Regions from separate parts of the Homo sapiens genome. Here region 2 is linked to region 1. Evidence: promoter capture Hi-C in human tissues and cell types (Jung and others, 2019). All regions are on one chromosome and are shown on one strand. Each heading gives the region's core, a stretch centred on a gene start or on the middle of the fragment in contact. The rest is flanking DNA. Distances are from core to core; before and after follow the strand shown.

Region 1 (6,928 bases), core at 1,022-3,521:
ATCCTCACTGTTGGGGAAAGGAGTTACAAATATGGAAAGGGTTAAAAGCCAGATTATGTCTATGGTGTTAGATTGGAAATGCAGCTATCAGTGTGATCTCATAGTCTTTAATATAAATAGACAGAGCAACAGATATAGGCGCGCGTGTGTGTTTGTGTTTCCTAGCCTATTACCTGAAAGGGCCTGGAAGCAATGAGCTCACGCAATCCCCAGATCTTGGTTTCTAAATACCATTTTCCATAATGGATGGAGGTCTTCTTGAAGATATGGCTAATTCCAGAGTTGGGCACAGAAAGTACAAGATGCTTATGGAACATTTTCTTGTGCCAGAAGGTAAGAAAGTACTCAGAAAAACATGAGGACCACATCTGAGATCATTTGAGCATTAAAATAAATAATGATATTAGTGATTTATAACTCATTCAATAAAACAGCAATTTATGAGCTCATGTTGATATAAATAAACACAAAAATAAGTGAGGAGAAGGGAATGCTCTTCTTCACTCTAAGAAAGTTTATTTAAGAGCAATATGTTTACCTAGTCTCCAAGTATCTCCCCACAAAATATTTATTAACTGCAAAAGGAAAAACCATAATTTTACAGTAAATCTAACAGATACCACCTTAAGCAAGTGGGTTTGGTTACAAGACTAACTCCGTTTATGTGACTCCTGATATGATTAAGAAGAATACAGCATTGTTTCTGTAGTATTCCTGCCATAAAAATACACAATTTCAATCTCACAATGAGGAAACATCACACAAATCTAAACTAAGGAACATTCTACAAAACGTACTCTTCAAAAATGTGAAGGTCACATATAAAAAAGGAAGATTACAGAACTGTTCAAGATTGAAGGAACGTAGAGACAAGGCAACTAAATGCAACACATAATCGTGGACTAAAAAACCATTTTTTTTCTATAAAGGATATTATTGAGACATTTGGTGAAAAGTTGAATGGGATCTATGGATTAGAAAGTAAAGTTGATTTACTGAATTTAATTGTTATACTGTGGTTATGTAGAAGAGTATACTTACATTTTTAAGATAATCACACTAAAGTATATAAATTAATTCAGAAAAAAATATACACACACCAAAATAAACTCACGGGTGGAAAGGAGGATGAGAGAGAGAGACAGAGAGAGAGAGAGAGAGAGAGAGAGAGAGAGAGAGAGAGAGAGAGAGAGAGACAGAGAGAGAGAGAGAGAAAGAGAAAGAGAGGGAGAATACAACCAGTGGTAAAATGTTAAACATTGGAGAACCTTAGTGAAGAGCATATGGAAATTCTTTATTATTCCTGTATTTTTTCTATAAGTCTGAAATTATTTTGATGTTAAAAATTAAAAATAAAGAGCATGGGCTTTGGAGTAACTCAGATTCAATTTTGAATCCTCAGTCTTATATCTATCATCTGTGAGATCCTAGGAAGTTATTAAATTATTCTGATCTTTGGTTTTCTCATTAGATCACCAGGAGTAGGACTAATTTAAAGGGCTGCTGTGAGGATTAAATTAGATAATGCATGACTTGAGCACTGGGCAGGTGGTAGGCATGTCTGGTAAGTGATCTGATACATAATGGATGCTGAAATATATATTTGTTGAATAAATGAACAAACTCCTCCCTTCTATCCAACCCCTCAATCTGAACAAGTGATCCTACTTAAAGAAAATTAGATGCTTCAAATTTTAGCAATCCTAAGTATGAAGGTTTTCTTAACACTTGAATAATATAAAACAAAATGTCAAATAATAATAATAAACATACCACCATGCATTCCGATGTTGCTCTAGAGTTTCCTCAGCACTTTGCCCTCGTGTCTCCTGTGACACTAAATGGAACAGGCAGGCATTCAAGTTTGAGTCCAACACAGCGTTAATAATAGCGAATGTTTACAGTGCCTTGGGTTATGGGTGTCAAAGAAGGGGTCATGCCCTTGTTACTTAAATCACAAACAAGGCTTACATCAGCTCATGGCTGCAGGGTACAAAATGAGGTGCAATTTAATGTCCATCTGGGCATCTGTTCCTAAGGTGCTAGCACTGCTGTCTGTGGTTCACAATATATCTGGGGTAGCAACACAGCAAAGAATGGGACCCAGGTTGTGCTTGGGAAGTTTCTACTCTCAGCCAAGATGTGCACATGAATTTAAAATTACCTAAGAGGGTGTTTCAGAGTTGCTGGCCAAAGAGTGGTGTCTTCTAATCTGGAGAGCAGCTGCTGGGCACAGGCATGCAAACACACATACACAGACACACACACACACACACAGACGTGCTCACGGAGCCTGTGCCTGCCTCTACTTGTCTGCTCTGCGCAGATGGTTCCTGGCTTTTGGGTCACCTCATCCTGCAGCCCAGTCCAGTTAGAACCTTTCTTCCACAGAGACTGGCAAGCTGTGGGGTAAGAGTTTTGGTAAGGCTGCCTGTCTTCAGAGCATGAAGGACACTGCCCGGAGAGGGAAGAGGGCAATATTTAGTGTTTGGGCCTACTTGTTGTTGGGCTCCCCACTGCCTCTCCTTTGCAGAGCTATCACTGGCCCCTGGTTGCAAACTCTCGGTGGCTTTCAAGCCTACAAAACAAAAACTGAGAGGGTGTCCAAAAAGAGAAGAAGAAAACGTTGTTGTTGGTCCTGGATTCCACTGTTGGATTTTGGTGGGGATGAGAAGAAGGAATTACCAGGTGTGATCAACACCTGCACGGTACCTGCACGGTAAGCTAAGTGTCCCCATCCTTGCTGAGAAGAGGCTTTGGGATGTTTCTGTGTTATTCACCAGCTAGGAGCGGCCAACACCACTCTCCAAAAGTAGGATCTTGTGAATATTATGCAAGGGAACGTAGTATGATTAAGAGCTTATGACAGATGATGACTTTTAGGCTAAAATGACTAAGAGTTGCTTGCAAAATAGAGGAACTATCCTGACAGTAGGTAAGTTTTACTATAGTGATACACATGAAAGAAAACCAAAATGAAACTTTAAATTGTTATCCTGTTAAGAGTAAGATGGATAGTCAAAAATTAAAGAAAAAGTATGTTTGGATAAATGGCTTTCCTTCTTAATAGCTTGATTTTGTAAGCTGATGTGAATGATCAATATACAGTGTCAAAATCATCACAATGTGTTGAAAATGGAGAATTATACTGAATAGGTTAAATTGCAGAGGAGGAATTCTCTTTTCATGGAAAGATTAATGGAAGAAACTAACATTTTCAAATGGCAACTATATTGTATCTTTTTTCTTTTGTTTGTTTACCTTCTGTTGATGTTAAGATTTAATGAATGAGAGCCAGAGAACAGAAGCAGGTTTCTGAGATAAGGTTTTTGGCAGGTCTTGGGAGATACCTATCAAGAACTTGTTCTGTAACACCCCACAGAAGATGACTGGATATCCATGGGCACATCACATCTGGATATAAATGGGAAATGATGCTAGGCTGCTGCCAAATGATATCACAGAAAATTCTGCTCACTGTACTCCTCAATGGGAGGATTATTCAATGTTTAGGGTGGCTGCACAGTTTTGTATATAGGCGCTCCACTGAAGAGAGATATGTGTTCAGTTAAAATGGTTGTGACATATTCAGTTATTCTTTTTTCTTTCCATACCAATTAATGATTACATATCTTTCTTTATTCATTATCTGTTCACATCTCAGGAAGGAATAGAAGAGGTGCAACACATACACTGTTTAACTACACTACCATATTCCACGTGTGTATTAGATATGCATAAAGGAGAACATGGTGTAGTTAATACTAGAGAGAATGCATTGCAATTACAGCAATGTTCCTTTAGCTACAGTTAAACTTGTTTTTCCTGTGATGACATTTTCTGATTTATCAATCTGCTATCTCCCAAAGCCAAATATTCCAAGTAAACATTTCTCTACATTTATCAGTTGACACTATTATGAAACTCTCATTATGCTTAATTAAAAATCAGCATAAATACTGTAAGAGCTGTTTGTTAATAAAAACTTCTAAAGGCAGCAATAATATTCATGGGCTCTTTCCACCTGGGTAATTAAGGTCTACTACTCTGATGAGAATTTTCTCAGTAATTTCCCAAAGCAATGTGGGGTTTGGATTCTTATACTAACCAATACAAAGATACTCTGTAAAAGTTCTGCAGCAAAGAAAAGCATTCATTATTTAAAGAGTGACAATTTATTTTTAGAGTTTACCTTCTATTAAAGTTCATGTGTAATTGTCTTTTTTGCTTAAGCTTTATTTAAGCAATAAATTAGCAATAAATTTAAGTAATAAATTTAGTCAAGACTTGGTCTTAGGTAGTGGCGCTGGCACTGGAAATGAAGATATTTTATTGTGCCATTGAAATGATGGTGCCTTTAATAGAGTGCTATTGTAGGAGACTGCCATTGCAACTTGCCGAGAGTCAGGCAGGTCCAAGGATGCAAAAAACCTAAATGTAATGGGCTCTATCTTCTTTTCTTCTGATTACAGTCCATATTATTCTATGTTCTAACCTAAAGCAAAATTTTCATTACCAATGTAATACCCGCTTCACCTTTCTAATATGTTACATTAAAAAACATTTAAAGAAAAAGTGCTAGTAGCTTTTATTTTCCTTAGAGTAGAACTAGTGCCTACCAGCAATACACAGTAAGTTTGTTTAGTTATATTAGGGGAACACTTTTATAGTAATAGCTTAGTTTGTTTGCTCATTTGTTCATTCATTCATCAACTATTTTAGAATGCCTACTCTGTGCCAGGCCCCGTGCTGGTTATTGGGATTATAACAGTGAATGAGGCAAACATGGTCTCCAGATGCCCTGAGTGTAGGAATCTGCACAGAGAGTCTGATTACTAGTGATTTGAATCTGTGTATTGTGCATGTTGTTCAACATAGATATGGAGACAATTTTAGATACCATCTCAGCATCAAATAATTGAATTAGAAAACACATTTTAGTGCAAATACTTGAGCCTTCTTTGAGGGATGTTGACATTTTGGTGCAAGCTATAGATGTTAGACAAAAACTTTACATACTAATACCATCTGGTTCTTCAGAATTGGGTCAGACAGGAAGTCTAAGACAGAAGAAAATTTGTATTATAGCCTCTTAGAAGTCTAGGGTTCAAATCTGACAGTAGTTCAAGATTTTCTGTTTAATCTGATGGTCAATCACTGGAGCCTACACTGAAAGAGCAGCCCTACTGTGCTTCTCATCTTGGTTGAGGAGACTTTTCATAATGGCATTAACAATGTCATTTATACCTACAAGGTGTTTTATATTGTGTATAAAACTCGCATATCAATTACGCACTTGACCCTATGTAGTAGGAAAGGCAGGTATTACCATTCCCTGTTCAGCAGATAGATAAACTAAGTTTTAGATATTTAAGGGACTAGCCCAGCTAATGTTTTCTCTAACGCACAGCCTCATGGAGTAATCTCTTAAATAAAGTTCTAGAAAAATTCTGCATTTTCAACATGAGTACTCATAGCCCTGACCTATTGTTTGAAAGTGGTATTAGCAAACAGGAAAACATGCAGGTAGAGGAAAGTTTCACTCCTCCCCCTACCATCCTCTTTCTGCCTCCATTGCCCTTCTAGGTCCTTACCCTAGAGTTCTTCCTTCTGGCCCTTGAAAATTCAGTTTAGTTGCTAAAAGAGATATAAGCTACTGCCTTTTTCTTCTTCTTTTTGGGTGGAATGATGAAGTAGAATATGGCGAACTGGGCTGTAAAGCTCTGAATTGACTCCTATTATTGTAATGAAATAAAAAATTATTCTGAGTAATAAGATTTTAAAAAGTTTGTGACTGTTTAGGACAGGAACAGTATAGTATATTAGTATATCCACCTACATGCAAAATACAAATGGAATTTTACACTGCTGGTTAGTACCACCAGCCTAGCAACATAAAACATTGTCACATCAGATCAGACAATTTTCTACCCAGTCCAGATCCTGCTTCTGGTGCAAGCATAAGTAGGCTGTTGTGAAGAAGCAGTTTATCATGGGTAAGAGGAAAAATTCACAAGAAAAAATACTCTATATGGAAAAATGGTAAGCACAGGTAATGGAGAGCTATACAGAGCTGAGCAGAGCAGTGAATGGAGAAGGTTTTTCTGATGGATTTTGAGAGTTAAGCCACATAGCTAGTATTGTCTATTATTAGCTATGACCAAGCAAATACACGACTTTATTTCTTTTTTTACGTTCTTCCTGGAATTTCCTGTACATGTATTTAAAGTTTGTTGTAATTCCTTGGAGGCTTTTAGCTACTTTTTTCTCTATTTGTGGCTTGAAATGGATGACAGGTATCTTCATGATGGATCCAGGGACAATCACTTGACTAGGAAATTGGAATGCAGGGGAGGATAGCAAACGGGATAAAGCTGCTTCTGTGCTTCTCCTTAGAGTTGCTGCTCCTGACCCTGAAACAAAAAAATACAGAGGCAGCTGCTTCTGAGCCATGATATTAAACTGACAGGTTGTGACTAGGGACACCAGCTCCTTGTTTCAGCTGCCCCTAACATCTCTAAATGAAGCTATTTTAAGAACCTTTGCATTTGATCAGGGAGCATGTGGGGTTAACCTTATGTTTTCCCCTCCAGTTTTAGATTCTAAGCAGGTGCAGTTAGTAGTTCAAATTTTTAAAACTTATTATTGCATTTCCTTCCAATCAATGTAAAAATATTATATTCCCAAAGCTACCAGGGGTGTATTAGTGACTTGATTTATCTTCGGGCTGGTTCTATTTCAGATGACATCTCCTAATCTTTCTTCTTCGAACAAGAAAAAAAATGGTTGCCAACAGTTTGAAGGGTGGGTATGGGTACAGAAGTTACTAAGGATTCTTTGGCTGGGGGGTGGTGCTGGGGGGGGGGGGTCATAAAAGAAACATTTGCAGATGCAGATTGCAGTGCCTATCTCTTCCTTCAATGATTCC
Region 2 (7,010 bases), core at 397-2,896, 48 kb before region 1:
TGCCTAGTAGTCTATAAATAGCTCATCTGAAGCAGTTGTACCCAAACTTTTATGGTTTGATTTTATGACAACATCTATTTCCTCCCATCCCTGCCTAAAAGAGTTAAAGGATGCATTATAATTTTGAAATTAATTAAAATTAGTTGTTTAAGCTGGGTATGGTGGCACGTGGCTATATTCCCAGCTACTCGGGAGGCTGAGATGAGAGGATCCACTTAAGCCCAGGAGTTCGAGGCTGCAGTGAACTACGATGGTGCCACTGCACTCCAGCCTGGGCGACACAACAAGACACTGTCTCTAAAATAAATAAATAAATATTTTTAAAAAATTAGCTGTTTAAATTTTGTAATATCTTTTAGCTTAATTATAAATACACTAAGGCAGAGGATCTAAAATTCTAGTAGGCCTAAGAATCCCTTGAGGCAAAGTGTCAGCCTCGCAAAACATACAGAATTTTGTTCCTACCTTTTGACAGTTTGCTTGAAAGAGTCTGGCCTGCAACCTAAAATACTATTCTAAAAACCATGACTAGAAATCCATAATAAGAGCAACAACAAAACTAAATTGCTTATTAAGGCTAAAGTTCTTGTCTATAATAGTTGAGTAAATCAGTGTTTCACATCCATACTTTTAAATGTGTACTTCAACTTCTATCCTCATGATGAATTCCTACTCATTGAATAGTTTGTTAAAAATGCACACCCAACAATTAACCTTTTGAATAAAAAAATACAATCACAAATCTTAATATTAGATTTGACAAATACTGTTTAGCATCCAGTAAGGATATAATCTATCAGTTAAAACTATTTGATATAATCTATCAGTTAAAACTATTAGATTGAGGAAAAGAAGTATTATGTTTCTTTTTTTTCTTTGAGATGGAGTCTCGCTCTGTCCCCCAGGCTGGAGTGCAATGGCGTCATCTTGGCTCACTGTAACCTCGGCCTCCCAGATTCAAGTGATTCTTCTGCCTCAGCCTCCCAAGTAGGTGGGATTACAGGCGTGTGCTACCACACCCAGCTAATTTTTGTATTTTTTAGTAGAGATGGGGTTTCACTATGTTGGCCAGTCTGGTCTTGAACTCTTGACCTCAAGTGATCCACCCGTCTCAGCCTCCCAGAGTGCTGGGATTATAGGCGTGAGCCACTGTGCCTGGCCTGAAAGTATGTCTCTTTAAACAATTATTATTATTATTCTTATTTTTAATAGCGATGAGGTCTCACTGTATCGCCCAGGCTGGTTTCAAACACCTGGGCTCAAGCGATCCTCTAGCCTCAGTCTCCCAAAGTGCTGGGATTATAGGCATGAGCCACCATGCCCGCTGGAAAATGTGTTAATTGACTGCCTGAGACACCTAACCATAACAGATACTTATGTTTTGCTCCTTGTCTTTAGGAAAATTGAAGCTTGGCTATACCTGGCAGGTTCAGTTCTTCTAATTCAATCACCAAGCGTCTGCTGCTATAATAGTCCTTCATCAGCTTCTGTAGGTCTTCAGGTAACCCTGGTTTTGGTTCTGATTTTGCAAGAACATCAGTAATTTTCTTCTAAGATATGAGAAAGAAGAAAAATGGGACGACATATTTTAAAATGGCATTTGGTTGGAATAGGTTAGTTCCTCTGGCATTTAAACGGCACATAGCTTTTGGTGTTAGCCAAGTGTGAATGTGGGTTTTAATAAATACATTTGAGAAAATTCACTAAATACTTCTTGGACATAACTATTGCTTTGAAAAATGAAAAAATGATCTAGAAAGCTCCCTGTAACTCTTGGTCTATGACTTCCAAGATAACTAAATTTTTGCAGGCATCTCCATACTGGGGTATTATTTTCTGTTAAAAGTAAAGAAATCTCATTGCTATGGAGAGCTCTCTTTTAGCCCTAGATGATTTATATTCCTGTAGGATTAGAATTTTGAGAATTTCTTGCCCAATCTGGTTTTTGAGGTGCTGAGTCTTAGTTTGGATTTCTGTCATTAGTGTAAAACCCGCAGTAGGAATCTGAGCATAGGGGCCTACTGAGAAGGGGACTTAACACCCTCGATTCTCAGGTCTTGGATAACTGATGGTATTAAAGTGGCCCTATGCAAAGTAGAAAAAATATTACAGGAAATACTTTCCAACATCGATTTTGATTTGGACTCATTTGTGTAGCATGTATTGAATGCTGCAGTAGTAGAAACCCACAATCATTCATTTATTTCCATCATAAGCTTCCCTTCTCACTTCCTTCTAATGTTCCACCAAAGATCCAGAAGGAGCATTCCCCACCCCTGACCCCAGATTTTCCCCCTCCTTCTACAATATCCTCATTTCTAGACACTTGCCAAGAATGGTCAAGCCTCTGTCAAAGAAATTAACTTTTAAAAATATGTCATCAGTGGGCACATTTTAGTGTGACCTCAGTCAAGACTAAACTATCTAGCTAGAGTTTTGACCTTGAGCCACCAAGAACTTAACACTCCAGAAGGCCATTAGTGTACAAATTATCAAAGCGAAGTTAAAGTCACTTATTTAAGGACTTGCCAAACCTCAGCCAATTTGGCATCTCCCATTTTCCTATTTGGCCATTTGTAAGAAAAGAAAACATATGCACACACACTCTCAGTTTTCTAAAAGCTTGCTGTTAAGTAATAGGTTTGAGTCCATCTTCTTTCCTCTAATCCCAATCGTATTTCCTCGGCTGACTTCAGCAGCAGACCCCTCTTGGCAGGGAGAGAATTACACTGCTGTTTTCACAACTGTGGGAGAAGGTCATAGCTAACCATACTTTCTCCAAGGCTGAGCCATAAAAAAGTTTGTATATGAGAAAGAGTCTTTCCTGTGCTCACCAGCAAATATCAAAATGCAAGGTAGGGGAGCTTTTTTGACCTAATTTATGGTTCCAAATTAGTCAGAAGTGCCTCATACTACCTTCATCTGCTTATTATTTTCTTTTTATTCATACTTTAAGGTATAAGGTCTTAAAATCCGGAATGAATAGAAAAAGGAGGTTGGTATATTTCTTTTCATGGACAGAGCCAGAAGGGCCGGGGGAGGATAGCTCTGGACTCCTTCTAGAATTAGAAATCTATGTCTGACATCTGACCACACTGAAAACATAGGGTGGGTAACAAAGATATTTGGCACTCCACAGGACTGAAATAGGAGTCAGAAGAATTTATTCTTAGCTCCAACAGAAACACTTATTAGTAGTGACCTTAGGAAAGTCACCAAACCTCAAAGAATCTTACAATGTCTGCATCTCTTAGGTGGGGATTACAATAGTTGCCTCAAGAAAGTATGATATATAAAAATGTGATGGAAACCATGTGGGGCCATACAAATTTAAGAAATTATTAATATTACCTTTCTTCTTTTCCTGGTCTTGGTGGTATTCTCTTTTCTTTCCTTTGGTTGTATCAAAAAACATTCTTTAGGCTATTAAGAAATACAAATGAGAACATTTTAATCTTTTCATGATAAAGTGTCAATTAGTGGCATGAACCCCAAAGTACTTTCTGCCATGCATGTATTCTTCAGAGTATCTTGGTAATATTCTACAGAAAGAGAGATGCTGGAAGATCTACCGTAGGTTACTATGCAGCGGTTGGGCTGAGAGAATTTGAGAAAGTCAGAAAGCGCAGATGACTTAAGACTGGAGAATCTTTGAGCAAGATCAAATTGTGAGTGAGTGTATATGTGTGCTTGGTGTGGAAGTGCAGTGTATTGGAGATTGAAGACAGTGGCTGAGTTTGTATAATACAGCAGAAATCGATGTGATTAAAATTAAGATGTGGTAAGACAGTCTTTGACTAGAGTGACTAAGGTTTTCCATGAACTAGCTGTGTGTGAGCCTACATTTCCAAGTCACTGGTTTATTGTTTTGTATTATACATTCCTTTCCTCTTTTCAATAAGCATAGAAAATCCAAAGTAAGATATATTAACTTACGTTTTTATAAACCAGCTGCATCAAATGCCTTTGCTATAATGACTACAAAATGAATGTCTTTGCTACTAGTCTGATAACCGTCTCAGCACCACAGTATCTAGAGTAATCTGTTTTGCCTGTTGCCTTGACCCCTGAGTACCCCAGTTTAGTACTATTTTTACCCTGAGGGCTTTTTTCTAATGTAGAAAAACAGGAAATTTGGACTAAGACCTTGATTTATAAAATAGAATGCCCCAGATTCCATATTTATTAATCATAAGCAGGAGTATAAAATGTTTCCTGTGCTGGACCTTTTATGCAACATTGTCAAACAAGTTGCCAAGTAAGATATAAAATGTAAGTGAAAACTTATTCTGAGTTTTCCTTGATTAACTTTCCATTCCAACCAGAGAATACTCAGTTTAAACTGATAAGCTACTAACTAAAGCAATCTTGTCTCCACTGGCTCTGCTAAAATGATTACAGATGAATCTTTCTATGAAAGCTTGCAGACAGCCTGCAGATTGAGAATGTCTATGGCCTGAAGTCAGAGAGAAAGATATAATACTACATAATTTCTTCAAGACATGGGGCCAAAGACCCGCAGTTTCAAGATTCTCTTTTAGTTATTACAGAAATAGATTTAAAAAGTTCAGGATTAAAGTGACATGGGAAATCTTGAAATTTTAGTTTCCTCTAAGATAAAACAAAAAACCTGCAAAGAGCAATTGCATCATAGCTAAAGAAAAGAGAGATATGGCTTCTTTTATTTAGAAAGTTAAACTGTCTTGTGGATGTAGATACATGCCAATTTGATGCTGGTACATGCCAATTAGAGACTGTGCCAAGGCCACTAATATGTCACAGAAGCTGCCAGATGGCCATAAGAGTCCAATTACAAACCAGGCCAGTGTTCAGCTCATGTTCCTAAGGCAAAGGCCGGGATATGATTAGCAGATCCCTTAAACTATACTGCATTATCTCTACCAGTATCAAGGTTTTTGGGAAGCGTATTTAGAAACCTGTTACAATCTATTAACGTATGGAGGTGTTCTCGAGGAATATGTTCAGTGTACTGGTTGCATTTGTGCTAGGTTTACAAAGCCAATTAATTAAAACATGACATAAATTAAATCTAGAAATGAGCTCAATTGTAAGAATATGGACTCTTTAATTCTGGGAGAAAAAATAAAAATGTAATTCTGAATCATGCACAGGAAAACGAAACATGCTTGATGAACTGCTTTAGCCATGATATTGCTTCAGTTAAATGATAGGTTCAAATTCTTACATCATCCTAAAGGAAATGCAAAATAATCTTTGGTTTTGGAGACTAGTTACTTTAGCTGGCTGTGGTAGGGTGCCAATGAAGAGGCCAATTTTATGGGGTCAATTTCCATAGAGGTGAGATGACTTTATGGAGAAATCCAAATCCACAGTATTGAAAATTCTTACATTTAGTTAACTGCTTTATGAATGTTGCTGTTTACCCTCAGGGAGACTAGGTAGGAAGATGTGAAAGAATCCGGCCAAGCCACTAAGCATTTCTGGAAACCAATTCCAACACTGTGTGACTTTGACAGTTGATAAGTAATGTCATTTCTTTATATGAAATGTAGCAATTTTAAATATGTAGTCTGAAGAATCACACTCCCCTAAAAAAATGTTGCTTTTAAGGGAAGCAACTAGAGCATATTTTCAATTCCTTAAAGTATCAAAAATTACTTTAAGAATGATTCTCCTGGTTACACATGGCAAATGGACCTCAAAATACCAGTAAACTGAAAATAAAGGGCATTGAAAAGGACCTATTGAGCAGGATCTATATAAAAACCAAGAAACCAGGAGAGAGAACAACAGTAATGGAGAGATTTCAACAACTTTTTGGAAAATGGAAAGTGGCTGGAGCTGGATAGAAGTGACTTGGCACAGAGAGAAAGCTAGCAGCTGGGTTTCAGAAGGGGTGGAAGCTAACAATAAGTAAGTCTTTGACCTGCTCGACTCTGAGAAGGTCCAGTACTTTGGAGGCACAAAGTACTACAGAGAGTAAAGGGTTAAAAAAGAAGAGATTGGCTGAAAGTTTATATTTAGAATGATTAGCTACTCCTGTCCCCCACTAGGTGATATCTCCTACCCTGGTAGCCAAGCAACTATCCCATTACTGCTTCCTTTCACCTTGCCTGTCCTGCCAGCCGACTGGAGATCTATTCTCTGAAGACATCAAGAGGATCAAGGCTGGGCCAGGGGAGAAAGGGCAGAGGCTGAGGCTTGCCTCCATTTCCTGTCCCTATTCCATGCTTACATATTGCAGGCAGGAGACTACTGAATTCCTCTTTGGAAAAATGGAATGGCCTAAAAGAAATACCATCAGAGAGTGACGTTTGGGAGTTCCATAGTAAAAAATCCAGCTTGTTATCCTATCACCCTACCATGAATACACTAATTGACAAACCCAACTCATCACTGTTTCAGTGTATCTCTCTTCAATAAGAATGGATAGCTAAGGTTCCTCAGACATCTAAGGAAAGTCTCCAACACAAGAGCAAATAAATAACAAAAAGAAAAATGAACCTAGAGAAAAGTGGGATGGTACCTCAAAATAATGACAATTCATATCCTCAGAGAGATAAGGGAAGATTTTGCAACCATGAAACAAGAACAAGATGCTGTAAAAATGGGAAAAACAGTTAAGCATTAAAACAAATAAGAAATGTGGAATAAAAATAAACGAGGAAGGCTTGAAGATAAAGTAGAGGCAATGTCCCAGAAAGAGATGAAAAATGAAAAGAAAAAAGTGGTGAGAAAATCAGAGAATCAGCCCAAGAGATTCAATTTTTCAATAAATGATATTATAGAAAAAGAGATCACATAAAACAGTAGGGGGCTTGGCATGGTGTCTCATGTCTGTAACCCTAGTGCTTTGTGGGGCCAAGGTGGGAGGACTGCTTGAGGCCAGGAGTTTGAGACCAGCCCTGGTTACATAGTGAGACCCTGTCTCAACAACAACAACAACAACAAAAAACAGCCAGGCGTGGTGGCTCACACCTGTAATCCCAGCACTTTGGGAGGCCGAGGCAGGTGGATCACGAGGTCAG

Evidence for each region. Contacts are between HindIII fragments. The study calls those that stand out against the background at their distance.
Region 2: a contact is called between a fragment that was not itself captured here and the fragment with the promoter of FILIP1L in region 1, in 1 of the 25 tissues and cell types used here (aorta).

Annotation. Positions count from the first base shown.
Region 1 is chr3:100,109,844-100,116,771 of GRCh38, reverse strand. It overlaps FILIP1L (filamin A interacting protein 1 like), which reads left to right and starts at 2,271. Exons shown (of 6, transcript NM_001387850.1): 1 at 2,271-2,719. The region is part of intron 1 of CMSS1 (cms1 ribosomal small subunit homolog); the gene reads right to left. The HindIII fragment of the contact is 15,087 bases long and covers 1-6,928 here.
Region 2 is chr3:100,156,843-100,163,852 of GRCh38, reverse strand. It overlaps CMSS1 (cms1 ribosomal small subunit homolog), which reads right to left. Exons shown (of 10, transcript NM_032359.4): 3 at 3,352-3,423; 4 at 1,421-1,550. It overlaps LOC105374009 (a long non-coding RNA gene), which reads left to right and starts at 3,149. Exons shown (of 5, transcript XR_007095984.1): 1 at 3,149-3,668. The HindIII fragment of the contact is 3,751 bases long and covers 1-3,521 here.